3 separate regions of the Homo sapiens genome follow, and all the other regions are linked to region 2. The links are contacts of gene promoters, found by promoter capture Hi-C in blood cells and fetal thymus (Javierre and others, 2016). All regions are on one chromosome and are shown on one strand. The core of a region is centred on a gene start or on the middle of the fragment in contact, and the rest is flanking DNA. Distances in the headings are between cores, read along the strand shown. Region 1 overlaps PADI6 (peptidyl arginine deiminase 6). Region 2 holds the start of PADI4 (peptidyl arginine deiminase 4). Region 3 overlaps PADI6 (peptidyl arginine deiminase 6).

Region 1 (3,651 bases), core at 1,102-3,601, 67 kb before region 2:
TACGTGGCTCATGCCTGTAACTCCAGCACTTTGGGAGGCTGAGGCGGGAGGATCACTTGAGGCCAGGAGTTTGAGACCAGGCTGGGCAATATGGTAAAACCCTCTCTATGGGGGAAAAAATAAAATAAAAAAATAAAGTCAGCTGGGCATGGTGGTGCGTGCCTGTAGTCCCAGCCACTCTGGAGATTGAGGTGGGAGGAGCCTGGGCAACATAGGGATACCTATGTCTGTATAAAAAATTAACCAAGTATGGTGGTATAACACCTATGGTCCAAGCTACTGGAGAGGCTGAGGTGAGAGGATCGTTTGAGGCTGCAATGAGCCATGATCGTGTCTCTTCACTCCAGTTCAGCTTAGGCTACAGAGTGAGACTGTCTCAAAAACAAAAAACAAGACAAAACAAAACAAAACAAAAACACAAAAGAACCCACACAAACCAAAAACTTAGTGTTGTAGATGTTAGAGTTCTAAAAGAACTCCGTTGGTGGTAGGTGTCTAATTTGAGAAGATTCTAGAGAAATTGAGGACACAGATGGCTCCTCAGGAAGAGAGGTGGGAGAATAGACTTTAAAAGACAACCTAGGCCCAGCACAGTGGCTCACGCCTGTAATCCCAACACTCTGGGAGGCTGAGGTGGGCGGATCACGAGGTCAGGAGATTGAGACCAGCCTGGCCAACACAGTGAAATCCCGTCTCCACTAAAAATACAAAAAAATTAGCCCACTAAAAATACAAAAAAAATAGCCCACTAAAAATAAAAAAAATTAGCCCACTAAAAATAAAAAAAATTAGCCCACTAAAAATAAAAAAAAATTAGCCGGGCATGGTGGCGGGTACCTATAGTCCCAGCTACTCGGGAGGCTGAGGCAGGAGAATGGTGTGAACCTGGGAGGTGGAATGGGCAGTGAGCCAAGATCGCGCCACTGCACTCCAGCCTGGGCAACAGAGCAAGACTCCATCTCAAACAAAAACAAACACCCTAGAATCAGGTTTAAGAGAGATGATATGGCCAGGCACAGTGGCTCACGCTTGTAATCCCAGCACTTGGGGAGGCCGAGGCAGGTGGATCGCGAGGTCAGGAGTTCGAGACCAGCCTGGCCAACATGGTGAAAACCTGTCTCTACTAAAAATATAAAAATTAGCCAGGCATGGTGGCACACACCTATAGTCCCAGCTAATCTGGAGGCTGAGGTAGGAGAATCACTTGAACCTGGGAGGCAGAGGTTACAGTGAGCCGAGATCATGCCACTGTACTCCAGCCTGAGTGACAGTAAGACTCATCTCAGAAAAAAAAGAAAAAAAAAGTAGATGTTATAGAGCTTGTTCCTGAGCTGATGGGGGTGATCTAGAGGGCGGGGAAGGGTGGCGGCTTCTTACATTGGTAAGAATTGACAAAGGAATGTTCTTGAATAAGAAAGGATCTAGTGAGACAAGAAAGACTAACTTTGGACCAGATGCGTCAATTAGTAACAAAGGAAGAAGGTAGGCACTAGACAGGCGTAGGTGGGTAGATGGCAGCGACACGGAAGTTCTGGCTGTTTCTATTCTCAGAATTAGGTTGGCAGTGCACGAAGATGGAGAAGTGACTGAGCGTCGAGGAGGGAGTGTGTGAGTGGGTATCTCAAATGAATCCATTTAGGAGTTTGTTCAGGAGTTCCTGGGGCCCACAGGAGGCATCTTGTTACCTGGAGAATCTTTTTTGGCTCCTCCTACAATCCCACCCCTTCCCCAACCCCAGCGGTGAGTTGGGCCCCAGGCTCCCAGTTGGAGCAACACTCACCAATGCCAGTGAGGTACAGCACAGCTGTGCCCACGGGGGCATCCTCGTTGGGCCCATAGTATGTGACCGAGACCTGTGGAGACAGCATCCCGAAACCATAGGCAGTGTTGGACGGGAGGTGCCAGGAACAGAGCCCCAGGCCATGTGCCGAGTCTAGGCGTGGGATCTTGGTCTTGTGTTATGGCTTCTGAAGTCTCACCTATGAGCTGGTATGGGGCCACAGCCCTGCGCTTAGGGCTGAGTCAGTCCCCTAAGGACTTAGAACCTGCCATGACCCCCAACCCTAACCTTGTCGAGAGCCAGGCTTGAAACCACCTGTCCACGTGAGAGCTGTATCCCTGATGGCGGGGTGATCAAGGGACTTATCCCAAAGGGATTTAAGAAACAGGCTGCCTGGCTCTAGAGCCCAAGCTTGAAACCACACTATACATCCTCCCTGCTAAACCCACTCTCCTGGGGTCCCATGTCCTACTCCATAAGGTGCACGGTGGGGAAACAGGCCTCTGGTGGCTTAAGCTGCTCACTAAGAAGGACACCCAGGTGAAGAAGCAGCGTTGGGACTCAGTCCCAACTGTGGGACTGTGTCCCACACCAGCCTCTACTTTATGCTTTTAGAAAGAGACCTGCCCTCCAGCCACTGACCCTGACCACAAGGTCTTGGTCATGAACCAGAGACCCAACCATTGGCCAGAGCATGTGACAGATCCACCCCATCCTTAAATAGAAGCTTTAGTCCTCTAAGTTCAAGGTTCTTTGTTGGCCACTCCTGAGGGTCCTGGAGGCCGAGCCCTGGGCAGAGAATGGTTCTCAGGTAGTCTGGAGTTCCACTGGCACCCACCGTGGCCTCCATTCTTATCTGAGATACCTTTTTTTGCGATGGAGTTTTGTTCTTGTTGCCCAGGCTGTAATGCAGTGGGACAATCTCAGCTTACTACAACCTCCACCTCCTGGGTTCAAGCGATTCTCCAGCCTCAGCCTCCTGAGAACCTGAGATTACAGGCACCTGCCACCACACCTGGCTAATTTTTGTATTTTTAGTAGAGACAGCGTTTCACCATGTTGGCCAGGCTGGTCTCAAACTCCCGACCTCAGGTGATCTGCCCATCTCAGCCTTCCAAAGTGCTGGGATTACAGGCATGAGCCACCACACCTGGCCAGAGACACTCAGTTCCTACCTAAGTCCACTACTTGCCTCTCAGGGAGTTGCCTGCCCTGGGCACACAGCGCAGGTGGGTGTGTGTACCTACCCCTCTGCAGCAGACATCTCCAGTAGGTCCTGTAGGGTGTGGGGGGAGGGAGGGAGAGCTCTCCCAGTCCTGAACTGCTCCATCATGGTTCTCACCCCCAGCCCCGCACTGGGTGCACCTGGAGAGCTTTAAACCAGCGGCCAGGATCCTAGCCCTGAGGTTCCATTGGTACCTCAGGTTTAATTGGTAGAGGGGGTGTGGCCTGGGTATTGATGTTATTAGCTCCCCAGTGGTTCTCACCTGCAACCAAGGTTGAACACTCCTGCCCTGAATGAGCCACCTGCTTCTACCACAGGAGAACCTCCCCAACATAGGCACCCCATTAGGGAGACAGCTTACCCAGGGGAGAATACACCCTTGGGCTCAAGCTCAAATCCTGGGTCTATCCCACTCTAGGTAGGCTACTTAGGTTTAGACACAGCACTCTGTGCCTTAGTTTCCTCATATGTAAAGTGATGGTAGGCCAGGTGTGGTGGCTCATGCCTGTAATCCCAGCACTTTGGGAGGTGGAGGCAGGTAGATCACTTGAAGTCAGGAGTTTGAGACCAGCCTGGCCAACATAGTGAAACCCTGTCTCATACTAAAAATACAAAATTAGCCGGGCATGGTGGTGGGTGCCTGTAG
Region 2 (3,945 bases), core at 1,321-3,820:
CTGGTCTCGAAATTCTGACCACAAGTGATTTGCCCATCTTGGCCTCTCAAAGTGCTGGGATTACAGGCATAAGCCACCGTGCCCAGCTTGCCACCTTTAATTTATGTGACCCTCGGTTAGGTGTTTTTGCCTCTTTTTTTTTGAGACAGAGTCTTACTCTGTCACCCAGGCTGGAGTGCACTAGCCCAATCTTGGCTCACTGCAACCTCTGCCTCCCGGGTTCCTGACTTTGGGGACAGAGAGAATGGCTTGAGCAAAGTTATGGAGGCATGAATATGAGGGGCGGAGGTGAGGAGGGAGTGGCCCTCCCACCTGTGTGGTTCAGGAAGAGGCCGATGGCTGCTCAGGAGATGGGAGGGAGGCGCTGTCTGGGGCTATGTTAAGAACAGATAAGAAGTGACAGGAAGGTCTGGAACGGAGACCCATGGGGAGAATGGAGGGTCCTAGAGTCAGGCTGCCTGGGTTGAGTCCTGGCTCCCCTACTTATTAGCTGTGTGGCTTGAGGTGGGTTACTTAACTTCTTGGAGCCTCTGTTTCCTCTTTTGTAAAATGGGAATAACAACATTACCTGCCTCCCAAGGCCATTGAATGAGTTGAATGTAGGAAGTGTGATGTAAATATTAGCCATTGTTACGTGAGATGTTCAGGGGATAGAGTGACAGGCTCAACGTGTGGCTGAAGGAGGAGAAAAGAAGGATTTAGAGGCCCCTGTGAACTCCGGAGTCCCCATCCTTTCTGGGAGAAATGGGCAGTGCCTTCCTCTCTGCCCAACACTGACCAGCTGTCCACCCACCTCTCTAGGGCCAGAGGAAGCACTTGTGATCTTGATTACTACTCATGGACGCTGGGTAGAGGGCTAGCCTGGGCATGCTGGGAGAGGCCCTGGGCTAGCTTCAGCTCCTGTCATTTCCTTCACACCCATTCTCAGAGGAGTTGGGGGCGCCTCAGATGATGTCAGGTGATTTTCTTTTTCCTTTTCTCCCCAACTTCTTGGTCTCCTGCCTCCACCATGTGGCCCTGGGAGACCATCCCGACATTTCCTGCTGTTCTCTGGCTGCTGGGGCTCAGGCAGTAGCAAAGAAATGTCCCCGGCACTCCTGTGGGCACCATTCTAGGGCCACCGATGCCCAGACTGGGATGGGGAAGCCAGGGGCAACCACTCCTATTCCTGACAACAGCAATTGTTGCAGGATAATTTAGGAATCAGAGAGACCGAGGGGTTGAGGAGGATTTATTATTTAGATTCACTGGCTCAGTCAGGCTAACATTTCAAAAGACTGAGCCCTGAACAAAGAGTTAAGTTATCTTTTAAGCATTTCATGGGGCGGGGGTAGATCTGTGCAGGGGGAAGCATATTATAGAGGCAAGAAACAAAGACAGTTATTTAATTGAGACATGCATTATATTATTTTTTACTTTTTAAGGAAAAAAATTTTTACAGCTTGAGTTTATCTGTCTAGTGACCTTGCAGCTGCACAGCTGGAGAAACAGGGTCTTTACAATGCCTGGAAAAAGAGGAGCAATAAGGCTCACTAGCCACAAAAAAACAGGCAGTTAATTTTTAAGGGACTCCAGCTCTTTTTTTTTTTTTTTTCCAGGGAAAATTGTTTTTTTTTTTTTTAACATAGAACTGAGTTTTTGCTTACACGTTTTAAAATTTCTTTTAATTCCTGTTCTACAATAACAACAATGACCCTGCACACTCCCCGAGAGCATTCCTCAACTCTCTTGTTTAACCCAGACCCTGCCACAGAGCATGGCACTCAGCATTTGTTAAATGAGTAAATAAAAACTACCAAGGATGGGCCCACCACTGTGCTAAGTACTCAGCCAACATCTGCACATTTTTTCACATTGAATTCCTATAACCAGCCCATGATGTGAGTATTATCCCCATTTCACAGATGAGGCAACTGAGGCTCAGTTGCCCAAGGCCTCCTTGCTAGCCAGCAGCAGGTCCAGGCTTCCTACCTCAGTCTCTGCCGCCACAGAGCCCCGTTTCGCCATCCCCACCCACGCTATTATGCACCCACTGAGGGAGGCTTAGCTAAGAGATGTGGGGTAACAAACTGTGCTGTGAACCAGGAGGCCCAGGGGCTAACCTTACTTCCAGGGCACACGTGCTGTGTGACCTTGAGCAAGTCACAGACTCTCTGTAAGCTTCTGTTGCCTCGATGAAGACAGGGAGATGGATGGCCTGGTTTGCCCCATAATAATTTATCTGTCGTGTGTTCCTGGGGAATTTGCACTTGTACATGGCAAAGAACCCACAGCCATGAGACTGGCACTTCCCAGGGCTGCTGGGGTCTTCTCTCTCCAGCTACTCCCCTGGCAGTGGCTGCAGAGGCTGGAGCCTAGAGCCTGGGCCAAACACATGCTCCTGTGTCAGTAGAACTGGGTCATCCAGCATCTCCTGACCTGCCTCCAAAACCCCAGAAGGCCCCCCTCTTACCTGCAGATGTCAAGCTGAGTCAAGGTGCCCAGCACACACACGGCATGGGTGGGCTGCTCTGGGGTCACACGGATCAATGTCCCCTGGGCCATCGTCGGGCTAGCTCGTCCCTCTGGCTGTAGGAAGCCCCTGGGCTGGTTCCTTTATATCGCCCAGCAGAGGCCATGAGTCAGCACCTGCGGTCTGTGGCCCAGAGGCTCAACCCCTCCCCACTCAGGTCAGGGGTGTGGGCTCTCAAAATCTCCTCTGCCCTGGGGCTGCCCCTCGGACCTCTAGATGGGTGTCAATGCTGGTACCAGTGGCAGGGTGGCTCTGTCAGTTTCTTGGGAAGGATGGATGGCTCAGAAAGCCTGGGGTGGAGAGTGGGGCTGAGGGGTTGGGTCCTGGTCCTCATGCCCACAGTCCCATCCCTGCCTAGAGGCCCTGAACACCTTGATCTATCCAATCTCACCTATGTCAAACAGGCATATCAGAGAGGAGAAGGTGGGAAAAGCGGGGAGATTTTAGGTAAGCAGTCACAGGCCAGGCTACACGTTCAAAGACCAACCAGGCTTGGGACAAGTCTCTCCACCTGGGCCACCCACATGACAGCTCACATTCTCTATGCCAGGCACGTTTTCCTGCACTTCACATAGAATAGCTCATTACGACAAACCCGTGAACTAGATCATACCATTATCCCCTTATTTCACCCTCACAGCAGCCCTCTGAGGTTGGTGCCATTATTATACCCATTTTACAGAGGAGAAAACAGAGGTGCAGTTCTTCCACAGCTCGAGAGTGGTAGGGCCAGAATTGGAACCAAAGGTGTCCAGTTCCAGAGTGTGAGATTCATTAGCTGCCTGTCTATATGACACGTGCTTTCCAGACTGTATCACAGCTACATCTCGCTACAATACAAGGTGTATATGGGCTTATTATTACAACCCATTTTACAGAAGGAAAATTGAGGCTCAGAGAGTAAAAGTGACTAGCTCTTGCCCAAGGTGCCAGAGCTAGAATGCGGCAGAGCTGGGAAGAGAAGATGAGCTTCCTGGCATGGAAGTTGATGTTCTCTGCATGCTCCAGGATACCTGCCTCTTGCCAGGGCCTCTGGGTGTCAGACCAGACAGTGCAGGTGTGGGCCACGCCTGCCAGGGGGATGCCCATGTGGCCTCAGAGCTGTGGTTGCACCTGGGCCATTGGTGCCAGGCTCTGCCTTTAATGAGGCAACTGGGGGGTGGTGGATGGGTCCCAACAAGGAGCACTCAAAGGGTGCATGCATGGGAGTCTGGCGTGAACATAGAGCGTTTCGTGGGTTGGATATCTTGCGTTTGTTTTTTGTTTGCTTGCTTTGGCTTTGAAGCAAAGAATTTGCCTCATTAATTCAGAGTCAGGCTGTGGGATCAAACAGGCTTTAGTTCAAATCCTGCCTCATCTCAACATCCCTATGGAGTGCGTCCTATCAGGATGCCCATGTGTAGATGAGACCACAAAGACTTAGAGAGATTGAG
Region 3 (3,925 bases), core at 667-3,166, 92 kb before region 2:
CCAGCTGCCTGCCGTGCATGGCACCACCCCCACCGTGGGCCTGCCCCCTCCAGGTCCTACCAGTCCCAAGGGGGAGGCCCTCGACCTTCCTCTAGCCTGGGCCCTGGACTCTAGACCCAGCTTGTCCCAGTTGCTTAAACCAGAGCAGCATTTGGATAATCTTAAATCCATTTGGATAATCTAAGTCCATTTGGATAAGTCCAACCACTTCCTGCCACGACATAATTTAGAGATGAGGGGAAGGACAGCAACTGATGTAGCCAAGTCTCTCCCCCCACACAAGCAGGCCAGCATGGCCATAGGTATCTCAGCTCAGCCTTGTCCTCAGTTGTCACTTATCCCCTCCCCAAACAAGGAGGTCACTGCCAAGATGCATTCACACCCACCAGCCCTTTATTGGCTATTTAGTAAACGTCACTTGGCTGAACACTTTTGCATCTTTTCCCCATAGGGGTTCAAGCTGGCGGCATTTGCCATCCTACTGGGTCCGAGGGTCGGTCGGGGCAGACAGGGAAGAAAGGGTTCTGTTGCCTGGACTCTCCAGCCTCCTCTACTGGGCAAAGAATCATGCTGTTGCATGGTGACAGTGGGCCATCCACGCTGGGGCAGAGCTGGCAGCTCCAGGGCCTGGGTCTAAGGTACCATCTTCCACCATTTGAAGGCAAAGGGCACCCGGCGGATGTTGGCACAGGCACAGATGTCTCCGACCTCTGTCAGGTAACAGTCAAAGTCATTGATGAAGGTGCACTTGAAGCCCAGGGGCTCCAGCAAGCAGCAAATCTTTTCTTCCAGGCAGCAGGTCCCCTTGATTTGGGGCCCAAAAGGCTTGGGGATCCCCAGGTTCTTGCCCATCACAATCATCCGCAACTGTTAGAAAGACAGGGTGGGTGAGGCCTGGACAGGGATCAGAGGCCTGAAAGCCAGCCGCCCACCTGCCTCTCTGCGGTCAGACCAGGCGTAGCAGGCAGGCAGCCGCCTCCTCCAGGTCAGTGAAACCCAGCTCACTTTTGCTTAGCCCTACAATGGCTGTTTCTCAACAGCCAGATAAAATCCTGCCTGGCCAAGGTCTGGGATTGTCAACTTCTCTAGTTTCTACGTTTCGATTATTCTGGCCTCTTGTCACCTGGATACAACACATGGCTGCTGCCTCCACTGAAACACTCTCCCCACCCCCGCTTTGTCAGTTGACTGCTGCGCATCTTTTGTATCTCAACTCCTCCTCAAAGCAGCTTCTTACCGTTACTCACCCCTGCCGGACCACACTGAGCTGATCAAGTTAGAAGACACCCATGTACAATTGGAGCATGCAGGGCCTGTGTCCCTAGGACCCAGGGAAGAGGTCAGCAGGTGTTTAGAGAATTGGGGCACTCAAATGCCTCAGTTCATTTTACACACCTATATAAGGGGTCAGTTGTTACATGAGAAAGTTCAGATGTGAGCCACAGTCGGCATAGGCTTGGTGAAGCCAGGACCTCTTGTACTCACAGCCCCACTCTTGACTATAACTTCTGGTTTAGAATAAGTAGGAACAGAATTTAAAAAACAAAAACAAACAAACAAAAAAACAAAACAGTTTTGCTCTTGTTGCCCAGGCTGGAGTGCAACAGGGTGATCTCCGCTCACTGCAACCTCCACCTCCCAGGTTCAAGCGATTCTCCTGCCTCAGCCTCCTGAGTAGCTGGGATGACAGGCATGCACCACTACACCTGGCTAATTTTGTATTTTTGGTAAAGACAGTTTCTCCATGTAAGGCTGGTCTCGCAGTCCTGACCTCAAGTGATCTGCCTGCCTGGGCCTCCCAAAGTGCTGGGATTACAGGTGTAAGACACCACGCCCAGCCCCAGAATGTTTTTTTTTTTTTTTGGTTTGGTTTATCAGACAAGGTCTTGGTTTGTTACCCAGGCTAGAGTGCAGTGGCTCATTGTAGCCTCCACCTCCGGGGCTCAAGAAATTGTCCTGCCTCAGCCTCCTGAGTGGCTGAGACTACAGGCATGTGGCACCACACCCAGCATTTTTTGTTTTGTTTTGTTTGTTTTTTTGGGAGACAGTCTTGCTGTTGCCCAGGCTGGAGTCCAGTGGTGCAATCTTGGCTCACTGCAACCTCTGCCTCCTGGGTTCAAGGGATCCTCCTGCTTCAGCCTCTGATTAGCTGGGATTATAGGCATGCACCACCACACCCAGCTAGTTTTTTGTATTCTTACTAGAGAGTTTCAACCATGTTTGCAGGGCTGATCTCGAACTTCAGACTTCAAGTGATCCACCCACCTCAGCCTCCCAAAGTGCTGAGATTACGGGCATGAGCCACTGCACCCTGGCCCCAGCATTTTTTTTTTCTTTTTTTTAAAGTTGCAGGGTCTCACTATGTTGCCCTAGCTGCTCTCCAACTCCTGAGTTCAAGTGATCTTCCCACCTCAGCCTCCCAACGTACTAGAACTACAGGTGAGCCACCACGACCAGCCAAGCAGAATAAATATTAGAGACGGAGTTTCAGTCTTGTTGCCCAGGCTGGAGTGCAATGGAGTGATCTAGGCTCAATGCAACCTCTGTCTCCGGGGTTCAAGCAATTCTCCTGTCTCTGCCTCCTGAGTAGCTGGGATTACAGGCATGTGCTACCACACCCAACTAATTTTGTATTTTTAGAGACAGGGTTTCTTCATGTTGGTCAGGCTGGTCTCAAACTCCTGACCTCAGGTGATCCACCTGCCTCGGCCTCCCAAAGTGTTGGGATTACAGGCATGAGCCACTGCGCCTGGCCTAGAATGTTATTTTAAGGGCTGATGTACCTCTATGTATCAGACACTGCTGCCCTGGACCCTGGAGATAGCGGACAGGAAGACCCACCCTGAGGTAGGTTGCTCAAGGCCTCGCTGCTGGCAGATGCGCGGCAACCTCGACTCTGGGTTGCATAGCACCCCATCCGAAGTGGGCCTCACAGGTTCACCCTTTTAGACTGGGGGCGCAGCTCACTGAGGCTCCTAAAGCACCTGGCCCAGGGCCTGGCCCATAGTAACTGCCTGGGGAACCTCCAAGCCTTCAGGCCCTGTACACTTGCTCTCTGGGTGGGGCGTCCCTAACCGAGATGGGGGAGAAGGGGTCTCCCTCCCATTTCCTCATAGGTACCGTTATCTGCTGTCCACCATATCTGCAGTCCAGCACAGTGAGGTGGCAGCCAGTGTTGCCTGGACAGGCCCTCCCCCACCCAGGGATGCGCAGTCGCCCCTCACCAGGTCAGGGAAGTATGGCCTCGCAAAGGACCTCTTGGGCTGCTGGTCAGAGGGGATGTTAGTCAGCTTCTCCAAGCAGAACAGCTGGGGAATCTCGATGATGTCCTGTTCCACCAGGCCCAGCTCCGTCTTCAGGATGTCACGGTTCAGGTGAATGCACTTCTGTGGGTGGGTGGGTGGGTGGGGGGGGGGGCGGGGGAGCAAGGAGAGCTCATCAGGAATTAAAACCAGTTTCCTTCCATACTGAAGGTAGGTGATGGCCTGACACCACTACCATCCCCATCACTTGCTGTGTGCCAGGAGCCTCACACTTCATACCAGCCTTACGAAATAGGCAGTTCCCTTTTCACATGGGGAAGTAGGGGCTCAGGAATGGCCTAGTCTTTAGTCCAGGATCCCATGGCTAGACAGCGTCTGGCACTTCTCAACCCAGACCAGCTGAGCCCAATACCCAGGCATCTCCCTAGGTCTTGAAATAGGCTTCAGACATAACCCAACACACCTGTCTCCCTAGGTCTTGAAATAGGCTTCAGACACATACCCAACACACCTAAGCTGTCGCCAGGGGCTGGGAGATGCTGTCTCAGCCCCATGCCTGGCTGGCACCCACCCTGCTATGCCAGGGGGGCTGTTCTTGCAAAACAGGGTACCCATGCACTGTGCGGGGCATAGAACATTCCTTGGGAACATTCCTGGGAATG

Evidence for each region. Contacts are between HindIII fragments. The CHiCAGO score rates a contact against its expected background, and 5 or more counts as called.
Region 1: a fragment that was not itself captured here is called in contact with the fragment with the promoter of PADI4 in region 2 in 2 of 17 cell types (megakaryocytes and M1 macrophages); the score reaches 6.0 in megakaryocytes.
Region 3: a contact is called between a fragment that was not itself captured here and the fragment with the promoter of PADI4 in region 2, in 4 of 17 cell types (megakaryocytes, M1 macrophages, neutrophils and 1 more). The highest score is 8.9, in megakaryocytes.

Annotation. Positions count from the first base shown.
Region 1 is chr1:17,373,629-17,377,279 of GRCh38, reverse strand. PADI6 (peptidyl arginine deiminase 6) reads right to left here. Exons shown (of 16, transcript NM_207421.4): 3 at 1,781-1,853. Among named protein-coding and RNA genes, the nearest start is that of PADI6, 3.3 kb to the right of the region's middle. RefSeq lists an enhancer at 1-90. The HindIII fragment of the contact is 316 bases long and covers 2,194-2,509 here.
Region 2 is chr1:17,306,822-17,310,766 of GRCh38, reverse strand. It overlaps PADI4 (peptidyl arginine deiminase 4), which reads right to left and starts at 2,570. Exons shown (of 16, transcript NM_012387.3): 1 at 2,453-2,570. The coding sequence starts at 2,544. The HindIII fragment of the contact is 10,543 bases long and covers 2,163-3,945 here.
Region 3 is chr1:17,398,147-17,402,071 of GRCh38, reverse strand. It overlaps PADI6 (peptidyl arginine deiminase 6), which reads right to left. Exons shown (of 16, transcript NM_207421.4): 15 at 3,225-3,386; 16 at 373-867. The coding sequence ends at 634. Among named protein-coding and RNA genes, the nearest start is that of PADI6, 28 kb to the right of the region's middle. RefSeq lists an enhancer at 301-1,237. The HindIII fragment of the contact is 4,174 bases long and covers 1-3,925 here.